Linked DNA regions of Homo sapiens: region 2 is linked to region 1. Evidence: promoter capture Hi-C in 16 types of primary human blood cells and fetal thymus (Javierre and others, 2016). All regions are on one chromosome and are shown on one strand. Each heading gives the region's core, a stretch centred on a gene start or on the middle of the fragment in contact. The rest is flanking DNA. Distances are from core to core; before and after follow the strand shown.

Evidence for each region. The method cuts DNA at HindIII sites, captures the fragments that hold promoters and counts their contacts. A CHiCAGO score of 5 or more calls a contact.
Region 2: a fragment that was not itself captured here is called in contact with the fragment with the promoter of TEX30 in region 1 in 1 of 17 cell types (fetal thymus); the score reaches 5.4 in fetal thymus.

The regions. Positions count from the first base shown.
Region 1 is chr13:102,769,857-102,776,855 of GRCh38, reverse strand. TEX30 (testis expressed 30) reads left to right here and starts at 3,070. Exons shown (of 6, transcript NM_138779.5): 1 at 3,070-3,174; 2 at 6,770-6,844. The coding sequence starts at 6,830. RefSeq lists enhancers at 1,960-2,637, 2,638-3,315 and a silencer at 2,898-3,237. The HindIII fragment of the contact is 5,388 bases long and covers 1-5,213 here.
Region 2 is chr13:102,805,836-102,812,834 of GRCh38, reverse strand. It overlaps BIVM (basic, immunoglobulin-like variable motif containing), which reads right to left. Exons shown (of 11, transcript NM_017693.4): 3 at 5,090-5,689. The coding sequence starts at 5,567. It overlaps BIVM-ERCC5 (BIVM-ERCC5 readthrough), which reads right to left and starts at 5,689. Exons shown (of 23, transcript NM_001204425.2): 1 at 5,090-5,689. The coding sequence starts at 5,567. The HindIII fragment of the contact is 1,157 bases long and covers 3,723-4,879 here.

The DNA of each region.
Region 1 (6,999 bases), core at 1,821-4,320:
TTTTCCTTGCTATTTCCAGCTTCTAGAGCTGCAGTCCTTATATTTCTTGTCTTGAGGCCCCTCTTCCATCTTCTCAGCCAGCATCTTGGCATCTTCAAATCTCTCCGCTTCTGTCGTCACATCGCCTTTTGTTTCTCTGAATGGCACAGCAGAATTATTCATAATAACCAAAAAGTATAAACAATTCAAATGTCCACCAACTGGTGAATGGATACTCAAAAATGCTGAATACTATTTGGCAATAAAAATATATGAGTTGTAACAAGGTGCAAAGTTCTGATGCATGTCACAGCATGGATAAACCTTGAAAACATTATCCTAAGTGCAAGAGGCTAGAGGCATACGACCATACAGTGTAGGACTCCATTTATATGAACTGTCCAGAAAAGGCAAATCCAGAGAGACAGAAAGTATGTTAGTGGTTGCCCGGGGTTAGGGGTAGGAACAGAGAATGGCTGTAATGCCAGTGAATCCCAAAATTGGAGCTCAGCCTGAGAGGGTTCTTGACTTTGCACAGGAAAGGATTCAAGAGCAAACTGACAGTAAAATGAAAGCAAAGCAAGTACATTAGAGCAACAAAGCACAGGAAAATTGCTTCTGGTAAACTGAGCAGGGCTACCCCACAGGCAGAGTAACACTCATGGATTGCTGGCTAGCTATATATATATATGTATCTACATATACATATATATGTATATACATACATATCATATATATGTATCTACATATACATATATATGTATATACATACATATGTGTGTATATACATATATATGTATATACACACATATATACACATATATAATATATACATACATATAATATATACATACGTATATAAACATATACATGTTATATATACATATGTGTATATATACACATATATACATATATAGTATTTATACTATATGACTATATGTATATAGTATTTATACTATATGACTATATGTATATAGTATATACATACACACATAAATACTATATATAATATTTATACTATATATGTATACATAGTATTTATACTATATATAGTACGGATATATATTATATGTGTGTATATATACACATATGTATATGTGTGTGTGTGTATGTATATATATATATATATAGAGAGAGAGAGAGAGAGAGACGGAGTCTCGCTCTGTTGCCCAGCCTGGAGTGCAGTGGTGCGCTCTTCTCGGCTTTGCAACCTCTGCCTCCAGGGTTCAAGCAATTCTCCTGCCTCAGCTCCCGAGTAGCTGGGACTACAGGTGCCTGCCACTACGCCTGAGTAATTTTTGTGTTTTTGGTAGATGCCGGGTTTCACCGTGTTGGCCAGGCTGGTCTCCAACTCCTGACCTCAGGTGATCCACCCGCCTTGGTCTCCCAAAGTGCTGGGATTACAGGCATGCGCCAGGGCACCCGGCCACTGGCTAGCTATATTTATACCTACTCCTTCATCGTACGCTAAATAAGGGGTGGGTTATTCACGAATTTTCTAGAAAAGGGGTGGGGAGTTCCCCGGAACTGAGAATTCTTCCGTTTTTAAACCATATAAGGTAAGGTCTGGGCATTGCCATGGCATTCGTAAACTGTCAGAGTGCTGGTGGAAGTGTTGTAGCATGTTCATGTATTATAATTAGTGTATAATGAGCAGTGAGGGCACTAGAGGTCACTTTGGTCACCATCCTGGTTTTAGCTGGCTTGGGCCTGTTTCTTTAGGGCAGTTTTGGCCGTTTTTTTAGGGCATCCTGTTCTGACCAGATCCTGTTTTGCTCAGCAGGTGGTGATCAGTGCTTGGAAAGTCCTGCTGATCTCCTACCTCAACTATAACTGTGCAAATACTTTTCAGGGGGATAATGGAAATGTTCTTAAATTATAGTGATGGTTGCAAATGGTTTTAAAATTACTGAAAATGATTGAATGGTACACTTCAAATGAGTGAATTTTATGGCATGTAAAGAAATGTTTTTTAAAAACACAGCTAAAAAATTAGGAGACAAAGAAGTATTAAGACTTTGTAATTTGGGGAAACACTTGTGATAAATGACAGCGACTATGTGGTTTTGTGGAATGTATTTCCTTGTATGTACCGTGACAGAAAAGAGGGCAGGTGCCAACTGCACTGGGCTTGGGGAAGATTCATTCATTTAAGAAATTTTTTTTTTTCTGAGCATTATTCATACACAAGAGGTTCACGGTTAAAACAAAAATTTACAAAAAGCAACCCTTTCTTCACCTGGGAGCTTATAGCGCAGTGAGGAGACACAGATACATCCATAGCTCGTGAGGTGACCGGGGAAGGACAGGAAGAGCGGGGAGGTGATCAGGGGAGGCCTCGCTGTGAAAACCACGCGCCCTGTCGACCCCGAGGAGACGCGGCCCACGCTGGGAGGGAGCAGCCAGGACAAAAGCCGGTCGTCGTGGGGTCCCGCCTGGTGAGTGGGGGTGAGGACAGCGAAGTGTGGGCTGCCCTGGGCTTCCAGGGAAAGGAGCCAGATGGAGAGGGGAGATGTGGGGGACCGATCGCGTGCAACAGCCTAGGCCACTGCCGGCCGCTGGCTGTGGCAATGAGCGCGGAGCCTTTGGAAGATCCAGGGGACAGGCTTCCACAGCATCCACGTGGCTGCGGCGTCGCCGACAAGGCCCAGGCGGGGGCAAGATGGTACGAAGCGACCATTTAAGTGATTGTTACAATCATCCCCGCAAAGATAACAGGGGGCTTGACCCCATGTAGAAGTGTGCGAAGCGGCTGGTTTCTGTCAGCGTTTGACCTTAACGGGAGTAACGAATCGACTATGGGTGTGAGGAAGACTGGTCAGAGCTGATCGCGCCTCGGAATGGAGTGGTGGCTGGGATGCGGAAAGGCCCCGAGTGGAGCAATCCTGGGTGAGGCGGAAACGGGGGCTGACTTTCCAGCCGTCCGCGTGCTACTGAGGCGGCGGCCACCCTGGCACCTTCCCCTAGCTCCGCTAGTCCGCGCGTACAGCCCTGGGATGTGGCGGGCTGGGAGACCCACGCTCCCGGCGTGCTCTGCGGCCCGGCCCGCGCACCCGGGGGGCGTGGCCTGCGCGCGCGTGCGTCGTAGCCGAACGCTGTGGCGGGGCAGGCGAGGCGGTCGCTTCGAGCGCGCTAGTCAGCTCCCTGAAGGGAGTGACGGCGGTTGGGTGCCCGCGGCCACTTTTGCCTTCCCGGGTAAGTGCGGCGGTGGCGGTTGGCGCCGCCGGCTGACGGGCGGCTTCCTGGGAGACGGGGAGAGCACCCGGCAGGCCCGCCTGAGACGTTTGAGGCTCGCGGGCGTCACTCCTCAGGGGCGTCTGGTCCGAGCCGGGAGGCGTTCCGCTAAGTTCGGTGCCCGCGGGCACCAGCCGGTGGGGGCTTCGTCCGCTTTGCCGGGTAGGAGGGCGGAATGTGGGGTTGGTACGGGCGGGGAGAGCCGGACGGGGCCAACCTGGACCACGTCAGCCAGTCCCGGGTGACTGGCTCGAAGTAGCCTCGGAGTTGAGAGGGGTCGACCGGGGCAGCCCGCGGCGCAGCCCCGGCAGCGCGCATTTGCGGAGAGAACGGATCCCGTGCCCCGAGCGCCGCCGAGCCCCGCACGCCCGTGAGACCCGCTTTGAATTTTCTCTCCATGTTTGCTGGGGTTGTTGACCCGACCCCCCGTAAGACTCGGACTCAACGTTTTTGTTTGCCCCACGACAGCCAGCTTAATGCTGTGGACGTAACAGGGCACGAACGTTTGTAACTGAAAGTTGAAGGGGCTGTGGCGTCTCCGTCCCGTGGCGTGGGAGGTGATCGCCCAGCCCTTGTGAGTAGTTGTCGTCCTAGAACTCCGCCGACCGCCTAGCCGGTGGAGCCGGCGCTCCGGACGCCACTAGAGCTGGCGTTTCGTGGGCGCAGCACCTCTAGCCGGTCATCTTCACCATCGCCATTGAGGGCACTGAGGCCGGGCCAGGCTTCAAACCCTGCCCTCTCTGAACCTGAAGCCAGAGATGAAAACCCAGACGACAGTGGCCTGGCACGGTGGCTCACGCCTGACCCCAGCACCATGGGAGGCCGAGGCGGGTGGATCACCTGAGGTCAGGAGTTCAAAACCAGCCTGGCCAACATGGTGAAACCCCGTCTCTACTAAAATTAGCTGGGCGCGGTGGCGGACGCCTGTAATCTCAGCTACTCGGGAGGCTGAGGCTGGAGAATCTCTTGAACCCGGGAGGCAGAGGCTGCAGTGAGCCGAGATCGCGCCGCTGCACTCCTGCCTGGGGGACAGAGCAAGACTCTGTCTCAAAAAAACAAACCCAGATGACCTAGAGCAGGTTGCTTGGGGATTGCATTATGGGGCATTTTCCGTGTTTCTGAAGAAAACCAGCATGTGTGCAGCTGCCGTGAAGAACACACTGTGCATCGTGAAGTCTGAAAAGAAGTAAAGCAGACCGGGAGAGGTGGCAAACGCCTTGGGATCCCAACGGTTTGGGAGGCCAAGGCAGGGGGTATCGCTTGAGCCCGGGAGTTCAAGACCAGCCTGCGAAACATAGGGAGACCCTCGTCTCTACAAAAACATTTAAAAATAATAAGCGGGCGTGGTGGTGAGCGTCTGTAGTCCCACCTACTCAAGAGGCTGAGGCGAGAGGATCGCTTGAGCTCAGGAGTTCGAGGATTCAGTGAGCTTATGATTGCGCCACTCAATTTTCCGGCCTGTCCGCCGGAGCGAGAACCTGTCTCAAAAAAAAAAAAAATAGGGAAGCATTCTAAATTAAGATAGTGGTTGTTTACATGCATCTAAATTTACTCCTTCATGAAGTTTCACTAAACTTACATTAAGGCTATTTAAAAACAAACATGAACCTCCAGCAATGGGAGAATAGGAAAGGAAACGCTGGCAATCAAATAGCGGGCTCCAAAACATGTATGGCTTAGCAAACCCTGTATTAACCACAGAATCTTCAAACTGCACGGAAACTGGCAGCACTGGACAGCGGTGGTACTGGGAATGAAGGTGGTGTGGTGCAGAAGGTGGGTGTAAGGAGCTTAAAGAAAGATGATTTAGGTGAAATCTGAGAAGCAATTGGATATCCAGATCCCCTTCCCCATTTCACCTGTTGGGTGACTGCCTTTCCCCTTGTTAGAAGACTGGATGGAGGCTTATTCTCTTGAGAAAGTAAAACAGAGGATCTTTGAACTGAGAAACCCAGGCATAATTGTGGGGCTGCATGTATGAAGATAGGGACACTGAAGCTTGAAGTCTTTCATCTCCTTTGTCTCACTCAACTTCCAAAACTTTTGCAGTCAGATCAGACTAATGCTCTCCAGGCTGAAATAAGAGAATTCTACACGCTCACACACACAGATGGGGAAAGGTACATAATAAGTTGCTTATGGTGGTTTCTAGGAAGTGAAAGGAACTTGGTGGTTGGGGGAAGAGTGTGTGGAAACTTCTGTTTACATTGTCTTTTAAAATGTACCATGTACACACGATACCTATTCAAAAATGAAATGTATTCTTCACCTCAGGAAGATCTATGAAAAACATATTCTGTAAATTATGAACAAATACTTTGACTTCTGTTTACATTTTTTTAATGTACCGTGTGCACATGATACCTATTCAAAAATGAAATGTATTCACCTTGGGAAGTTCTATGAAAAAATTCTGTAAAAAATTATGAACAAACCCTTTGACACAGCGATTCCTTCCCCAGGAATTTATCTTATAAATACACTTACATCGTGTGAAAATAAGTACAGTGCTATGTGGAAGGATAAGTAAGAAGCAGATAATATTGGTTACCTTTGGAGAGGGGAATCTGATGTCAAGTCAAGAGTGGAATGAGTGAGACTTTTTCACTACATATTCTTGGTACCTTTTGAACTTTAAACCATGTTATTGTTACCTATTGAATGAATGAATAAATAAATGTTAATGGGAAAAATGGGTGAGTAATGGAGATCCTGATGTTGGTAATGTCTTAAACAATACAAGAGCTCTTAACATAGGAAGGAATGCTGCATAACAACCCCAAAATTTCAGTGGCTTACATTTTATGCTCATGGATCTTCAGATCAGCTGTTGGTCAGATGTTGGTTAGACTAGTCTGGACTCCAGACTTCAGTTTTGGGTTCAGTTCTGTTCCGTGTGTCTTCATTTTGAGACCCAGGCTGAAAATGCAAAACCACCTAGAGCATGTTTTTCTCATGGCTGAGGGTGAAAGTTCAAAAGGGCTTCTGGAAGTTTGCCATGCCTCAGCTCAGAAGTCACACATTGAAATGTCTACCTACATTCCATTAGTTAAAACAAGTTACGTAGCCAAGTCCAAAGTAAACAGGGTGAAGACATATATACTCTGCCTTCTAGCAGCACTGTGAAGTTCCATGACAAGATGTGGATGGGTAGGCTTGGGAACTATAATGATGAAGAAAATGGGTTAATGGAAAGATGCTGAAAAATTAAGTTTAGGATAGTTGGTTTAGAATGAAGATTCTTACAAAAATGTGTATTTATACATTTTACATTACCATATTTTGACAAGATACAGCATCCTACTTTGATATGAATTACCTTACAGTTTCCATGTCAAAGTATCACCTTTGTTTTATCTTCTATAACATCTACCAACCCTGCACCTGGCCCTCTAACCAATTCTGAGTGCCCGTAGAAAAATGTACATGTAAAGACACCAGATTTTAGGGAAGTAATTCTAAATGTTTATTTTAGCTACTGAATGTGTTCATTCATAGTTTTTGTGTCATATCCATGTCTGCCAACTCACCTTTCACAACAGAATCTTCTTTTCAGGGAGATGTCCTTTGCTTCTCAGATGTAAATGCACTTTAAGTTTGTTATTCAACAGTGAAAATGAGTCATACAGAGGTAATATTTTCGTATGTTCTGCATCTTCAGGGTTCCTGGTTTTTTGTTTGTTTGTAATTATGTGGCTTCAGAGTAATTTTATTTTCAACTTTCACTGTGGGAGGCAGTATAGCATAAGTGGTTAAGAGCGAGGAATCTAGAGCAGACTACCCTGA
Region 2 (6,999 bases), core at 3,052-5,551, 35 kb before region 1:
TGTTGCAACTCTCCCTCCAATGTTGCAAGCCCCTCCCACTACAACAGAAGCAACTTCCAGAGGACTTAAGGGGCCAGCACCTTTGGTGTGGTTTTTTTGTTCTGTTTTTTTTCCTCTCCATTTTCTGTTTGGGGAGCCAGACATTTCAAAAACAGTATATTCAAAAGCAATCACTTATACAGGGAAATGTAGAAAATCACTGTACACACTCAGAGAAAGGCAGGGGCTTTTCCCTGAGAAGCCCTTAAATGTATACCTCAGGTTGATTACCAGCATAGAAACAGCCTATAGCAATCAAAAAACAAAAACTAAAATCAACAAACTCTGGGAAAGATGGGTATTGATTTCCAGAGTTACTGCATTATTAAATAATATTTGAATGTCTAGTTTCCAACAACAACAACAACAAAAAATCACAAGAAACAGAATAAGGCCCATTCAAAGAAACAAAAAAATATATAAACCAACAGAAACCATCCTGGAAAGACCAAATGGCAGACTTGCTAGACAAGGACTTTAAAACCACTATCTTAAAGATGCCAAAAGAACTAACGAAAGATGTATGTATGAAGAACATGGAAATATCAATGAAGAGATAGAAAACTTAAAACCAAAAATAAATTCTTGGGCTGAAAAATATAATAACTGAAATGAAAAACTCACTAGAGTGATTCAAAGGCAGTTTTGAGCAGGCAGAAAAATTAGTGACCTTGAAGATGGGAAAACTGAAATAATTGAGTATGAGGAACAGAAAAAAAAAGGTCTGAAGAAAAGTAAACAGACCTTAAGGGACCTGGGGACACCATCGAGTGGACCAACCTATACATTGCAGAAGTTCCAGAAGGAGAAGACACTGAAAAAGGGGTAGGAGATTATCCAAACAAATAATGCCTAAAAACTTTCCAAATTTGATTTAAAAAACATGAATATAAACATCCAAGAAACTCAACAAATTCCAAATAGGATGAACTTAGAAAGACCCACACCAATATATGTTATAATAAAATTGCAAGGCTGGGCACGGTGGCTCACGCCTGTAATCCCAGCACTTTGGGAGGCTGAGGCAGGCGGATGACCTGAGGTCAGGAGTTCAAGACCAGCCTGACCAACATGGAGAAACTCCGTCTCTACTAAAAATACAAAATTAGCCAGGCATGGTGGCGCACGCCTGTAATCCCAGCTACTTGGGAGGCTGAGGCAGGAGAATTGCTTGAACCCAGAAGGTGGAGGTTGTGGTGAGCCAAGATCGTGCCATTGCACTCCAACCTGGGCAACAAGAACAAAACTCCGTATCAAATAAAAAATTTAAAAATTGCAAAAAGACAAAGACTCTTAAAAGCAACACAAGAGAAGCAACTCATCACATACAATGGACTGTTAATAAGAATATCAACAGATTTCTCATCAGAAACTTTGGAAGCCAGAAGGAAGTGGGCTGATATATTCAAAGTGCTGAAATAAAAAAAAAATTCAAACAAGAATTCTAAATCCAGCAAAACTGTCCTTCAAAAGTGAAGAAGAAACTCAGACATTCCCAGACAAACAAAAACTGAAGGAGTTTATTACCACTAGACTTGCCCTGTAAGGAATGCTAAAAGGATTCCTGCTGGTTGAAATGAAAGGACATTAGCTAGTACCTCAAAGCCATAGGAAGAAATAAATTTACCTCAGTGAAGGTAATACACGAACAATTATAAAAGCCAGTGTTATTTTGTTAGTTTGCAACTCCAGTTTTTGTATTCTATATGATTTATGAGACTAATACATTTTTGAGAAATTATTATTAGCTTAAAAGCTAGTAGTAGGCCAGGAGCAGTGGCTCATGCCTGTATTCCCAGCACTTTGGAAGGCCGAGGCAGGAGGATTGCTTGAGCCCAGGAGTTCAAGACCACCCCTGGCAACATAGTGAGACTCTATCTCTACAAAAAAATATTAAAAATTAGCCAGTCGTGGTGATGTGCACCTGTAGTCCCAGCTACTCAGAAGGCTGAAGTGGGAGGATTGCTTAAGCCTGAGGTCAAGGCTGCAGTAAGCCATGGTCGTGCCACTGCACTCCAGCCTGGGCAAGAGAGCAAGACCCTATTTCAAAATAAAAAATAAAAATAAAAAAGCTATTATTATAATAACTTTGGTTTGTAACTCCACATTTTGTTTTCCACATTATTTAAGAGATTAATACATAAAAATTATTAGTTTATGTTTTCAGACACACAATATATAAATTTGTAATTTGATAACATCAATAACTGAAAGTTAAGTGTGGACGAAGCAGTATAGGAACAGAGTGTTTACATATAAATAACAAGTACTAAAATGACAAGTCTCTCCTTATCAGTGATTACTTCAAATGTAAATGGATTAAATTCTCCACTCAAAACATAGAGACTGGCAGAATGCATTTTTTTAAAAATATGTTTTTGTATACGTGGGTTCACACACAAAAACAGAAACAGAAAAAATTAGCTAACTATATGCTGTCTCTGAAACACTCACTTTAGATCTAGAGATACAAATAGGCTGAAAGTAAAAGGATGGAAATAAGTATTCCAAAGCAAATAGCACCCAGAAGAGAGCAGGGGTGGCTATAAATAAACCAGTCATAAAAAGACAAATACTATATGATTTCACTTACATAAGGTACCTAGAATAGTCAAATTCACAGTGACAAAAAGTAAAATTGTGGTTTCCAGGGACTGTGAGGAGAAGGAATGAGGATTTATTGTTTAATGGGTACAAAGTTTATTTTGTAAGATGAAAAGAAGGGCTGGGCGGGGTGGCTCACGCCTGTAATCCCAGCACTTTGGGAGGCCGAGGCGGGCGGATCACGAGGTCAGGAGGTCGAGACCACGGTGAAACCCCGACCCTACTAAAAATACAAAAAAGTAGCCGGGCACGGTGACAGGCGCCTGTAGTCCCAGGTACTCGGGAGGCTGAGGCAGGAGAATGGTGTGAACCCGGGAGGCGGAGCTTGCAGTGAGCCGAGATCGCGCCACTGCACTCCAGCCTGGGCGACAGAGCGAGACTCTGTCTCAGAAAAAAAAAAAAAAGAAAGAAAAGAAAAGGAAAGAGATTTGGAGATGAATAGTGATGATGGTTGCACAACAACGTAAATGTACTTAATGCCACTAAACTGTACACGTAAAAATGGTTAAGACAGTAAATTTTCTGTTATTAGACATGTATTAGTTTTTAAAAAAGAAATTAAATGGAGAAAAGACAACTTCACAATCATAGTTGAAGATTTTTAACACCCTTCTTTTGGTAATTGATAGAACAAGACACAAGTTAAGCGGAGACACAAAAGATGTGAATGACACTTTCAAACACTTCGACATAATTAATATTTATAGATACTCCCAATGACTGCAGAATGCACATTCTTTTCAAGTGCACATGGCACATTCACCAAGATAGACCATATGTTGGGTCATAAAACAAGTCTCAGTAAATTTAAAAAGACTGAGAGCATATGCCCTCTGTCCACAATGGAACTAAACTAGAAATCAATATTTAGAAAAACTATTAATATCTAGAAATTAAACAGCATACATCTAAGTAATACATGTATCAAAGAATAAATTGCAAAGGAAATTAGAAAATATTTCCAATTAAGTAATAATAATAAGCATATCAAAATTTGTGAGCTGCAGCTAAAGCAGTACTTAGCAATTTGGAGTATTCTATGCTTATGGTAGAAAAGTCTAAAATCAATGATCTAAGCTTCCATCTTAAGAAGTCAGAAAATGAAGAACAAAATAAACCCAAAGTAAGTCAGAGGAAGCAAATAATAAAGAGCAGAAACCAATGAAATAGAAAACAAACAATTGAGAAAATTAACAAAAGCTAGTTATTTGAAAAGATTAACAAAATTGATAAACTCCTAGCTAGATTGATCAGTTTTAAAAAAAATAGAGAAAATAAATTAATTACCAGTATTAGGATGCAAAAGGAGTTGTCAACAAAGATTCCTTAGATGTTAGAGGGATAACATTAACTTTAAGCCCCCAAATTTGACAACTTAAATGACATGGACAAATTAAAATTTGTCAGAAATTAACAGAAATCAAGACAACTCCATAATTATAAATACAGATTTTAATATCTCTCTGAAAATCCTCAGAAAACAGGAGGAAAAAACACTTCCCAACTTTTCTTAGAAGATTTGCATAGCCCTAATTCCAAAACTGGCCAAAGGCATTAGACAAAAAGAAAATTGCAGACTCATTACCTACAAATTTAGACAAAAAAAGCAAAATCCCCCTCCTACCCTTAAGAATTACAAATTTACCTAAAATTCTATGAAACAAATTGATTTTGCAGATAAACAAGCAGAAGCATTAAGGTTTTATAAAATCATCAGAGAAGACTAGAAGTAAATACAAATCCTAGTTTGACCTCCTCTTATTAACTCTGCAACTTCGGTCTAGAGATTTATCCCTTCTAAGCCTCAATTTCTTCACCTACAAATGGGGCTAACAGTACCTGCCTCATAAAATTCCTGTATTACTTTGAATTCAAAAGAAAGAAGTGTAAAGTATTTCTATCTGCCATAGGACCACCCCATTGCAACTGTGAAAGTTATGCACAACCTCGGTAAACAGCATCCTCTTAAATTGAGCAGTACACAACCCACTTGGTGGTACATGGAGGCTTTGCTGGGTGCCTAAAAAATTTTAACAACAAAAAAAGCTAAAACATTATATAGCAGGAAAAAAAGATGTTTGGTCAGGAAATACAACTTCATGTGCCTATAAAACTATGAAACAGTAGTAAGTTATTCTAGCCATGTTATTAACATTTCATTTTCTAAGCTACCATCTGTTTATAATATTTTACATTATTAGATTTTCAAATCTCTCAAAATATTTGATACAAAGCTTATGCTTGAAGTTTCCAGTGGAAGCCCCGCAATGAACTACATGCCCTACGTCAAGGTTACTTTCCTAAAACTACATTGACAGACAAGATGATAGCCATGTTCCTTATCTAGTATTATACAAGGAAACTATGTGTAATGGCAAGATTAAACAAGACATAGTGTTTGTTTTCTCATTATTTTCACATATGAACTTCATGGCTCCCTCCTTACCTGATTTGTGTTTCGAATTTGTGGTCACCCCATCAAATTCAGATTTATCAATTTCCCATGCGAGAGGTAGCTTGCCCAGGCTGTTGGATAAGTTTTCCAAGCTATTTTCTTCATTGTAGATAATTTCCGATGTACTAGTCGGGATACCAATGTATCTTGATGAATTATTTCCAGCAGATAAAGAGGTACTATCAGGGAGGCAAGGAGAGCGGGATGGATTTGGAGTTTTATAGATTGAGGTCGCCTGGTTGAGAAAGGCATAGTCCGAACAGATGGCATAAATTTTTTCCCGTGTATGAGTCACTGGACAACTCCATGGATAATGACCATCTCCTTTGGGACCCAAGGGTGCTCCTGAGGCACTTGTGCAGAAAGATTTTACAGCACCTTGTAGATTCTCTTCAGGTGACTTTCTCTCAGATTTGTGCTCACCATTTCCAGAATCATTTGACCTTTCTGTTTCTGCAACGTTAGGCATTGAATGCAGTGTAAAAGTTTCTATTACTAGAAACAAGTTGCAACTCTATCTGTTTCTTGATAAACAACTTTGACAATTGTTTACAGCATGCTATAAAAGCTTGAGAGCTGCAAAATGAGCTCCTAAGAGGAAGGAAAAAGAATGATCAACAATCCACCAGATACACAAAGAGCCACTAAAAAGCATAGCAAGTTTTATGCATACATATGCCTTCATTCTATATTAATTTTACAACTACTATATGACTGGAGTCACAATCACTATCTTATTTTTTAAATTAGTCTAAAATATGCATTAAATTATTTTCAAATAATTAAAAAATAATTAAAAAGCAAATAGCCCAATTTTTTTTTTTTTGAGATGGAGTTTCACTCTTGTTGCCCAGGCTGGAGTGCAATGGCACAATCTCGGCTCACCGCAACCTCCGCCTCCCGGGTTCAAGTGATTCTCCTGCCTCAGCCTCCCAAGTAGCTGGGATTACAGGCATGCGCCACCACGCCCGGCTAATTTTGTATTTTTAGTAGAGATGGGGTTTCTCCATCTTGGTCAGGCTGGTCTCAAAATCCCGACCTCAAGTGATCTGCCCACCTCTGCCTCCCAAAGTGCTGGAATTACAGATGTGAGCCACCATGCCCGGCCAGCAAATAGCCCAATTTTTAAAAATGGGCAAAGTATCTGAATAGTGTCTTCTCCAAAATCAGTACAGAAATTGCCAATAAGGCCAGGCGCAGTCACTCACACCTGTAATCCAGCACTTTGGGAGGCCAAGGCAGGTGGATCACTTGGGGTCAGGAGTTCGAGACCAGCCTGGCCAACATGGTGAAACCCCGTCCCTTCTAAAAATACAAAAATTAGCCAGGCATGGTGGCACATGCCTGTAGTCCCAGCTACTCAGGAGGCTGAGACATAAGACTCACTTGAACCTGGGAGGTAGAGGTTGCAGTGAGCCGAGATCGCGCCACTACACTCTAGCCTGGGCAACAGAGCGAGACTGTATCAAAAATAAAAATAAATGGCCAATAAGCACATGAAAAGATGCTCAGTATCATTAGCCATCATGGAAATACAAATCAAAACCACAATGAGATTAACACCTCACACACGCTAGAATGGCTATAATCAAAAATGTTGGTGAGGACGTGGAGAAATCATAACCCTCATACATTGCTAATGGAAATGTAAAATGGTCCAGTTGCTTTGGAAAACAGTTCTTCCAACAATTAAACAGAGTTACCATATGGTCCAGCAATTTCATGCCAAGGTATATATCCGTGACAGATGAAAATACATCTTCACACAAATGTTAATAGCAGCATTATTCATAATGGCCAAAAAATGGAAACAACCCAAATGTCCACCAACTGAGGAATGTATAAATAAAATGTGGTATATCCATACAATGGAATATTATTTGGCAATAAAAAGAAATGAA